Regions from separate parts of the Homo sapiens genome. Here region 1 is linked to region 2. Evidence: promoter capture Hi-C in human tissues and cell types (Jung and others, 2019). All regions are on one chromosome and are shown on one strand. The core of a region is centred on a gene start or on the middle of the fragment in contact, and the rest is flanking DNA. Distances in the headings are between cores, read along the strand shown.

Evidence for each region. Contacts are between HindIII fragments. The study calls those that stand out against the background at their distance.
Region 1: a contact is called between a fragment that was not itself captured here and the fragment with the promoter of GPR45 in region 2, in 1 of the 25 tissues and cell types used here (mesendoderm cells).

The regions. Positions count from the first base shown.
Region 1 is chr2:105,199,210-105,204,114 of GRCh38, forward strand. No RefSeq gene overlaps it. Among named protein-coding and RNA genes, the nearest start is that of GPR45, 40 kb to the right of the region's middle. The HindIII fragment of the contact is 3,263 bases long and covers 1-3,233 here.
Region 2 is chr2:105,240,368-105,245,511 of GRCh38, forward strand. GPR45 (G protein-coupled receptor 45) reads left to right here and starts at 1,376. Exons shown (of 1, transcript NM_007227.3): 1 at 1,376-3,100. The coding sequence starts at 1,492. The coding sequence ends at 2,610. The HindIII fragment of the contact is 15,889 bases long and covers 1-5,144 here.

The DNA of each region.
Region 1 (4,905 bases), core at 352-2,851, 41 kb before region 2:
TTGCAACACTGTTCACAATAGTCAAGATTTGGAAGCAACCTTAAGTGTCCATCAACAGATGAATGGATAAAGAAAATATGGTACATATACACAATGGAGTACTATTCAGCCATAAGAAAGAATGAGACTGAATCATTTGCAAAAGCATGGATGGAACTGAAGGTCATTATGTTAAGTGTAATAAGCCAGGCACAGAAAGACAAACATCACATGTGCTCACTTATCTGTGGGAGCTAAAAATCAAAGCAATTGAACTCATGGAGTTAGAGAGTAAGAATATGGTTATCAGAGGCTGGTAAGGGTAGTGGGGAGATAGGGATGGTTAATGGGTATAAAAAATATAAAAATGAAAAGAATGAATAAGCCCTAGTATTTGATAGCACAACAGGGTGACTGATATGGTTGGCTGTGTCCCCACCCACTCTCATCTTGAATTCCCACATGTTGTGGGAGAGTCCCAGTGGGAGGTAATTGAATCATGGGGGCAAGTCTTTCTCATGCTGTTCTCATGATGGTGAATAAGTCTCATGAGATCTGATGGTCTTAAAAAGGGGAGTTTCCCTGCACAAGCTCTCTTCTCCTGTCTGCCACCATGTGAGATGTGCCTTTCAACTTCCACCATGATTGTGAGACCTCCCCAGCCATGTGTAACTGTAAATCCAATAAACTTCTTTCTTATGTAAATTGCCCAGTCTCGGTATGTCTTTTCCAGCAACATGAACATGGACTAGTACAGTGACTATAGTCAATAATAATTTAATTGTACATTCTAAAATAAAAGAGTATAATTGGATTGTTCGTAACACTAACACAAAGGATAAATGCTTGAGGTGATGGATACCCCATTTTCAATGATGTTATTATTATGGGTTGCATGTCTGTATCAAAACATCTCATGCAACCCATAAATATATATGCCTACTATGTACCCACAAAAATAAAAAATGTTAAAAAAGATGGACCTTTCTGATCACATGATTGTTAAGTAAAAAAATGATGGAGTGAACTTTGTAGGTATCAGGGGAAACAGTGTTCCAGGAAAGAGGGAAAGCTGGTGTAAAGGCCCTGAGACAATAATGTAACTGAGAGTTTTGAGAAGCATTAAGGAAGCAGTGTTGCTGCAGAGAGTGAGCAGGCTAGAGAATGATAGTGGGTAAAAGTACATAGTGGCTGGAGATTTGGATAGTGCTGGATTATTATTAATGGACCTTAAAAGCTTTGGTGAAGGTATTGGAATTTGTTCTGAGTGAGACGGAAAGAGGGTTTTGAGCAAAGGAATAAGTGATCTCCCTTACATTTTGAAATGGCCACCCTTGCTCTCATGTAGAGGAGCAGGAATAGAGATAGGAGGCTACTGCAATAGTCCAAGCAGGTATGATGGTGGCTTGAACAAGAGTGCAGGGGTAAGAGTCAGGTGGTTCTGGATATATTTTGAAGGTGAAGTGAACAGGATTTGCTAATGGGTTAGATGTGGGGTATAAAAGAAAGAGGAGCAAAGGACTAATTCTAAGATTTGATTTAAGCCACAAGAAAACTAAAGTTGCCATCTGCCCAGAGAAAGGACTGGATGCAGAGCTGGATTTGGATGGGGCAAGGAGTGAATTTGAGGCACCAGCAAGACATCCTGGTGGAGGTGTTGAGAACATATTTGTTAAATATAAGTATCCGCAGCCACCACAATGGCTCGCACCTGTAATCCCAGTGCTTTGGGAGGCCAAGGTGGGAGGATCACTTGGGGCCAGTAATTTGAGACTAGTTTGGGCAGCAAAGTGAGACTCCATCTCTACAAATAAAAAATTTTAAAAATTAGCCAGGCTTGGTGGCACACGCCTGTAGTCGCAGCTACTCAGGAGGCATAGGTGGGAGGACTGCTTGAGCTCAGGAGTTAGAGGCTGCATTGAGCTGTGATCACACCACTGCACTCTAGTCTTGGTGACAGAGTGAGATTCCCATCTCTTAAAAATAAAAATATTTGAGTTCAGAGAGGAAGTCTCAACTGGGAGATACAAATTTTCAAGTGTTCAGCACACAGATGCCCTTAAGTGTCTGGAGATTATCGTCTCCAGAGAATTACCAGTTAGTAAGCCTTGGGACTTTAGGAGATCACCTGCAGAGTGAGACATCTGAGGACTGAGCCTTGTGATTTCAGTATTTAGAGGCTGTGAAAATGAGGAGGATCCAATACAGAGACTGAGAAGGAGCAGCTCGAGAAACGGAAGGAAAATCCAGAGGCACTGGGGGACCAGAGGCCGCGTGAAGAAAATGTTTTAAGAAGAAGGAATTGTGTTCAATGCTGTGGCCAGGTCAGCTAGGATGAGGGCTGAGAAGTGACCACTGGGTTTGGCAATGTCGAAGGTGGGCCAGGAGGGGGTCTTTCCCAGGAGTAGGCAATAAGGGGGTATGTTGTCTGGACAGAATTTAAAAATAACAATTAACTGACTAAAAATGAGCCTTCTTATTATCCTCACCATGCAGTGGCAATTCTGAACAATGTAAGTAAAAAAAAATCCTTAATTGGTCTAGTTCTAAACATTGTTGCAGTTGTTATTGGGTTTAAATAACACATGTGAAAGCTTCAAATTAGCACATTTGTGTTACTTTCTCTTAATAAAATGGTACCTCGAGAGAATGACCAGCATATAGTCAGCCCTCCAGATGCATACTCAACTAAATTTTTTGCTTCTAGAGTCATTTGCAACAGTCTAAAATGGTTTGAGCCCAGTTCACCATCTCCAGCCCCCTTGAGACCATATTCCTACATTTAAACAGATTTGCCATGGACAATGACAGCAGAGAGATGGTCCAAACAAACACAGGCCAGCCTGCACAACATAGTAAGACTCCATCTCTACAAAAAAAAAATTAAAAATTAGCCAGACATGGTGATGTCTGCCTGTATTCCTGGCTACTAGGGAGGCCGAGGTGGGAGGATTGCTTGAGCACAGGAGTTCAAGCCTGCACTAAGCCATAATGACACCACTGCGTTCCAGCCTGGGTGAGTTAATCCATTTTTACACTGCTATAAAGAACTGCCTGAGACTGGTTATTTATGAAGAAAAGAGGTTTAATTGACTCACAGTTCTGCAGGCTGTACAGAAGCATGGCTGGGAGGCCTCAGGAAACTTACAATCATGGAGGAAGGCAAAGGGGAAGCCCACACATCTTACCATGGTGAAGCAGGAGAGAGAGGGAGAGAGAGAGAGAGAGAGAGAGAGAGAGCATGAGTGAAGGGGGAAGTGCCCACACTATTAAACCATCAGATCTTATGAGACTCACTCACTATCAGGAGAACAGCAAAGAGGAAATCCACCCCCGTGATCCAATCACCCCCGGCCAGGCCCCTCTCCTGACATGTGGGGATTACAATTCAGCATGAGATTTGAGTAGGGACACAGAGTCAAACCATATCAGTGACAGAGTGAAATCCTGTCTCTAAACAAACAAACAAACATAACTTGAGTTACTTCAATTCTGTCATTTTGTGTAACCAACTGACATTTTTATTTGTGTTTCAAATTTAGGAGAGTAAAATAGAGTGCAAACTGCAAGGTGCAATGTTTTGGTTGCATAAGAGCAAATTTTCATTGTGAAATATACTGAATTTGAATAGCTTTGAAATGGAAATTTACTCTTCTCTAGTTGTGCTTAAACTAGAGAATGAATCAAGAAAACAAAGTTTATTGCTGACTATAATCGTGCTGTGTAGAGGAGAGGCTGTTGAAAATGACCTGGATGGGTGTGAAATATGCTAGGGATGTCTTCTTTGGAGGTCATGGGGTAACGTCAAACAGAGCAGTTTTGTGGAAGTGATGGGAAGAGAACACGATAGGGGTTGAGAGAGAATGGAAAAAGACAAAGAGGAAACAAAGAGCAGAGACAACTCTTTCAAGAAGCTTTGCTGTACAGTGGGTAGCGGGTACTGTGAAATCCAGGGAGGGCTTTCAAAAATGTGAGATGCTATTCTGAGGAACACAGCAAGACCTTGTCTCTACAAAAAAATAGCCAGCCATGATGGTATTCACCTTTAGTCCCAGCTACTTGAAAGGCTGAGGTGGGAGAATTGCTTGAGCCTAGCAGTTCAAGGCCAGCCTGGGCAACATAGCAAAACACTGTCTCTACAAAAATGAAAAATAATAGCCAGGCATGGTGGAACACACCTGAATTCCTAGCTACTTGGGAGGCTGAAGCAGGAGGATCACTTCAGCCCAGGAAGTCGAGGATGTGGTGAGCTATGATCATGCCACTACACTCCAACCTGGGTGACAGAGCAAGATCCTGACTCTGTTAAAAAAAAAAAAAAAAAAGTGAGATGCTGTTGTATATTTGTGCTGTTGTATATTTGTATATTGTGCTTTGTTGGGAGTGAGCCAATAGTGAAGGGAAATGAACAATACAAGAGACAGAAAGGAGATGTACTGGAAGAGTGTCCTTGTTGGGAGGGGATGGCCTCCTAACGACAGTTCAGCCGTGACTGGGAGAGGGCAGATGCAATTATTGTGCTGGGTTTGGGCACAGCCTGTGGCGGCTCTATTCTTGGTGCTTCTGCTGGTTCTGTTAGGCTGGAAGCAAGTCACACAACACAGGGGTATGTGGGAGATGACAAGGGTTGAAGAGAGAGGAAAAGATATGGAAGGGACTTTCTAGGAGAGAGGGAGGCCAAGTTGACCAGAAAAGTGTAGACAGCTGTGATAGTCAGCGGTTCTGTGCGTGGATTTGCAGGGAGAGCAGCCAGTACTCCCAGCACCTGGGATGTAGTCCCAGTTCTACTGCATACCAAGCATGGCACCTGGGGTGAGTTCCTGAACTGCTATGAGCCTCAATTTCCTCATCTGTTTCATGGTGATGAGAGCCCTGATTAATGATTTTTCCTCCGAGAATTAAATGAAATCAGTAAACACCATAACA
Region 2 (5,144 bases), core at 126-2,625:
AAAAGCTCATTTCATTTACTTTTTTTTTAAGAGACAGGGTCTCACTCTGTTACCCAGGCTGGAGTACAGTGACACCTTCTTAGCTCACGACAGCCTCGAACTTCTGTGCTTGAGCAATCCTCCTGCCTCGGCCTCCTGAGTAGCAGGGACTATAGATGGAAGCCTGGCTCATTTTTTTGTGTGTGTAGAGATGGGATCTCTCTATGTTGCCCAGGCAGGTCTTGAACTCCTGGCCTCAAGCAATCCTCCTGTCTCTGCCTCTCAAAGTGCTGGGATTATAGGCATGAGCCACTGCACCCAGCTAACATTGTATTTTAAAAGGCCTTACCTTTGGGGAAAGTTCCCTTCTCCCAGTCTGTGCTTCCAGAAGTAATAGTATAGCAGCCCCACAGTTATCCAAGATGTTACCATTAGGGAAAACTGGGTGAAGGACACACAGAATTTCACCATAGTATTTATTATTATAACTCCATGTGAATTTACACTTATCCATGTGAATTTACACTTATCAAATAAAGTTAAACAAACAGACTTACAATTTCTTTTAAAAAATTAAAACTTAAAAATGTATACTTAAAATTTGCTAAGAGGGCAGATCTTAGGTGAAGTATTCTTACCACCAAAACAAAATGATAATACTAGAAAAATGGCAGGAGAGAGCTTTGGCAGGGGGAGTGGGATATGTTTTTGGCCTTGGTGGTGATGGGTTTCTGGTATATTGAGATGTAAATTTGTACAGCTTTTGACATGTCAGTCATTCCTCGATGAAGTGGGGTTTTTTAAAGCTAAACAAATATTATAGCAGCAGCATCAACTATCACTTATTCATCTACTCAACAAGCATCCAAGTGTCCTCAACAAGGACACTTACTGCATGCCAGCCACTGTTGTCAGTACTGGGAGATAGCAGAGAATGAAACAAGCAAAACCTTTCTCTTGTGGAGCAGGATTCTAACGTTAGTTGGCTAGACCAAGGCTTCATTCCGACAGGTTGCTGAAAACTCAAGTTATTACATAAACACTAACTACAAAGTGTACTTCCTCAGTTTCCTCAGAAGATAGCTGATTAGGTTTTTCTGGGCTGCTTGACAAGACTCAGACAGTATTTGTGAATATCAAGCTTTGTCCCACGTGGTAAATAAACTTGTTTAGAAACACCTGTAAAGCTTAAACGCGTGCTTTCTTCAACGCGTTTGGAAACTCTAACCCCCTTCTCTTTTGTACTTTTGCTTGCTGTCCACTACAGAGGGTCCAAGCACGAAGCTGTGCACAGAGTCGCTCTCCACAGAGATGCTTAGGATGTGATCCATGAATCGCAAATCCCAGCTAGTGCTCACAAAGACGGACATTTCTCCCCAAGACCATTCCAGTGCCCCAGAGGTCCACAGACATCCAGGAAGATGCAGCCAGCAGACAAAGAATGGCAGCCACCCAAGTGCTGAGGGGAGCCCTCCCGGCCATTTCTGTCCCAGCTCCAAGGGTCTCTCCACGATGGCCTGCAACAGCACGTCCCTTGAGGCTTACACATACCTGCTGCTGAACACCAGCAACGCCTCAGACTCGGGGTCCACCCAGTTGCCCGCACCCCTCAGGATCTCCTTGGCCATAGTGATGCTGCTGATGACCGTGGTGGGGTTCCTGGGCAACACTGTGGTCTGCATCATCGTGTACCAGAGGCCGGCTATGCGCTCGGCCATCAACCTGCTGCTGGCCACCCTGGCCTTCTCCGACATCATGCTGTCCCTCTGCTGCATGCCCTTCACCGCCGTCACCCTCATCACCGTGCGCTGGCACTTTGGGGACCACTTCTGCCGCCTCTCAGCCACGCTCTACTGGTTTTTTGTCCTGGAGGGCGTGGCCATCCTGCTCATCATCAGCGTGGACCGCTTCCTCATCATCGTCCAGCGCCAGGACAAGCTGAACCCGCGCAGGGCCAAGGTGATCATCGCGGTCTCCTGGGTGCTGTCCTTCTGCATCGCGGGGCCCTCGCTCACGGGCTGGACGCTGGTGGAGGTGCCGGCGCGGGCCCCACAGTGCGTGCTGGGCTACACGGAGCTCCCCGCTGACCGCGCCTACGTGGTCACCTTGGTGGTGGCCGTGTTCTTCGCGCCCTTTGGCGTCATGCTGTGCGCCTACATGTGCATCCTCAACACGGTCCGCAAGAACGCCGTGCGCGTGCACAACCAGTCGGACAGCCTGGACCTGCGGCAGCTCACCAGGGCGGGCCTGCGGCGCCTGCAGCGGCAGCAACAGGTCAGCGTGGACTTGAGCTTCAAGACCAAGGCCTTCACCACCATCCTGATCCTCTTCGTGGGCTTCTCCCTCTGCTGGCTGCCCCACTCCGTCTACAGCCTCCTGTCTGTGTTTAGCCAGCGCTTTTACTGCGGTTCCTCCTTCTACGCCACCAGCACCTGCGTCCTGTGGCTCAGTTACCTCAAGTCCGTCTTCAACCCCATCGTCTACTGCTGGAGAATCAAAAAATTCCGCGAGGCCTGCATAGAGTTGCTGCCCCAGACCTTCCAAATCCTCCCCAAAGTGCCTGAGCGGATCCGAAGGAGAATCCAGCCAAGCACAGTCTACGTGTGCAATGAAAACCAGTCTGCGGTTTAGGGGGTCAGGGGGCCACAGAGAAGGGGCAGCTGAGCCCCAGTCCCAGGGTGGATCTGTCCTGCTCTGTTCCCTGGCATGTTGGTCATAGTCTGCACTTTGTGGTGGCAATTTAAGCACAAAGGTACTCATTTGTAATCAGATGAGCTGCAGCTCCCAAATTTCAAATTTTGGCACGATGAATTATTTTTGTTTCTCTTTGCAGAGAGCCAAATATGGGGCTGATGGGAACTGCAACGTCATTAAGTCAAAAATGGAGTGGGCTGGGGAGTGCAGAAGTTGGGCAGAAAGGGAGGAGGAGGGCAACAGGGAATGAAGCTGGTTGAGTGTGGGGCAGGAGGACTGGTCAGTCACAAGAGCTTCAACCTGCCCTGCGAGCCCTCTCTGCACCTGCTCAAGAGAAACCCTGAGAAACCCCAGTAGGTGTGAGCTCCTGGGTGTTCATTCATTTTGTTTGACACCAGGGTTCTTCAGCTATTGATGTTTGTGGTGTGTGGGGACTCACATGAGGTTCTTTATGTTGATCAGATGTGCATTTCTTCCCATGCCTAAGTATCTTTTCTAGAAAGAAACCAAAATCACACGGGGAAGCAGAGTGAGCCTCTGTGCTTTGAGCTCCCTGCAATGACGCATGGGAGGCCTCAGAGGCTTGAAGCCCAGAGAAGGTCCTGGGCAGCCCAGCTGAAGTGAGAAGCACATCCGGGAACTCCTGCATGTCCCCAGCGCCCCCCACCTGCTGGGCCCACCCCGTCCCTGCACCCTGAGGCCACTAGGCCTCCCTGTCTGCTGGAGAGCCCCTTGGCCCTTCCCTCTTTCCTCCACCCCTCTCCCTGCCTCCCTTCGTTTTCCTCCCATCCATATCCAGTGTGCTATAGCTCACCCGCTGAGCAAGCATCTGTAGTGACCTGCTTTCAGTGTCAGCAGTGAGCAGGCTGGGCTTAGTTTACACATTTCCTTTGGACACCCTGGAGCTCCAGAGCCCTTCAACCCACCAAATCCACTTCAGCACTGGACCCGCTGCAGGTGCCACACCAACGAGCCCAATTCTCGGGGTCCCCACTGGTCTCTGTGTTCCTCCTACCTCATTCAGATCCACTGCTGCCATCCTGTTTACCTACTGGGACCAGATCCCAGAAGTGAAGTTGCCCAAAGGGGGCTTCTCTGCTTGTGCTCTATTCGGCCACCACCAGGGGTCCCCACACTGGCATATGAGGGTCCTGAGTCCAGGGCATAGCACTGAGCCCACTGAGCTCTCTTTATTGTTCCAGATCTGAAGAGGGTGGGAAATTTAAGGAGAGATTTAGAAAATCTGATTCCAGGTCTGACTCTATCAGGAACTAGTCATTTGACCTTGATCGTTTCTCATTTCTGTGGGCCTCAGTTTCCCCATATGCCAAATGAGGAAGCAGATCTAGATGATTTCCAATGTCCCCTTTCATCTCTCAAACACTCTGATTCTGAAATGTGTGTTTTCTGTCTGTAGTCATCAGATCCCCTGCATTCATTTATTCATCCATGCAAAGAGCATGCATTAAGTGCCTACTAGGTGTAAGGCACTGTGCGGGAGATAGTGATGAATGAGGCATCATAGGCCATGCCCAAAAGCAGTTGTCTGATTTATCTCAGGATCATGGTAACTCAAATTCAGCCTAAGAGCACAGAAGCCCCATTTTTGCTTCACTTCCCGTTTCTTTCTAAACTGCATTAAGAGCCAGCTCCTCCTTCTCATACTTTCTTCCCGCAGTAGTGGTAACATGGGCAGAGAAGAAAGGGGGGTGAAAGGGAAAACATCATTTCTCTTAACCCTCCTCTTCAGCCCAGAGGAGGGTTAAGAAGATAACTGACACTTGTTCCCCCTCACCTCCCTCCCTGTTTATACCCAGATGGAGAGAGAGGGAGAAGATGAGCAATTGATGTGTGACCGACGGAGGTGGGTTCCATCAATTCTGTGTCCCCAGGTCCCCCAGCAAGGTGGGGATTTGCCTTCAGCTCCATGGAGCAGGGCTCTAGGGCCTCAGTAGTGCCCAACAGCACAGCCAAGTCACCAAGGGGACCAAGCCCATGGGCACCTCCCCTCTGGTGGGCATTTCAGATAATTTTCTTCAGGAGCCTTGAACAAAAGGGAAATCACAACTGAATAAATGAAGGTACCAAAATTTACATCAATCAGTGTTATATGATGTATGTTGGACAGTAATATATATGTTTCAAAGTAATAATTTTGTATATATTTTAAATAAAGTATTATTGCTCTTTCGGTGTATAAGCCTAAGTTCTTGCCAAAATTTGCACCAAGACCATACATATTAAGCCCAGGATCCAATACCCAATACTCCTATATCAGTTTGTTCAGACTGCTGTAACAAAATGTGTTAGATTGGGTAATTTATAAACAACAGAAACTTATTTCTTCCAGTTCTGGATGCTGGGAAGTCCAGGATAAAGGTTTAGGTAGATTCAGTGTCTGGTGAGGGTTCCTGCTCTGCTTCTTAGGTGACGCCTTGTTGCTGTGTCCTCGCATGGCAGAAAGGGAAGGG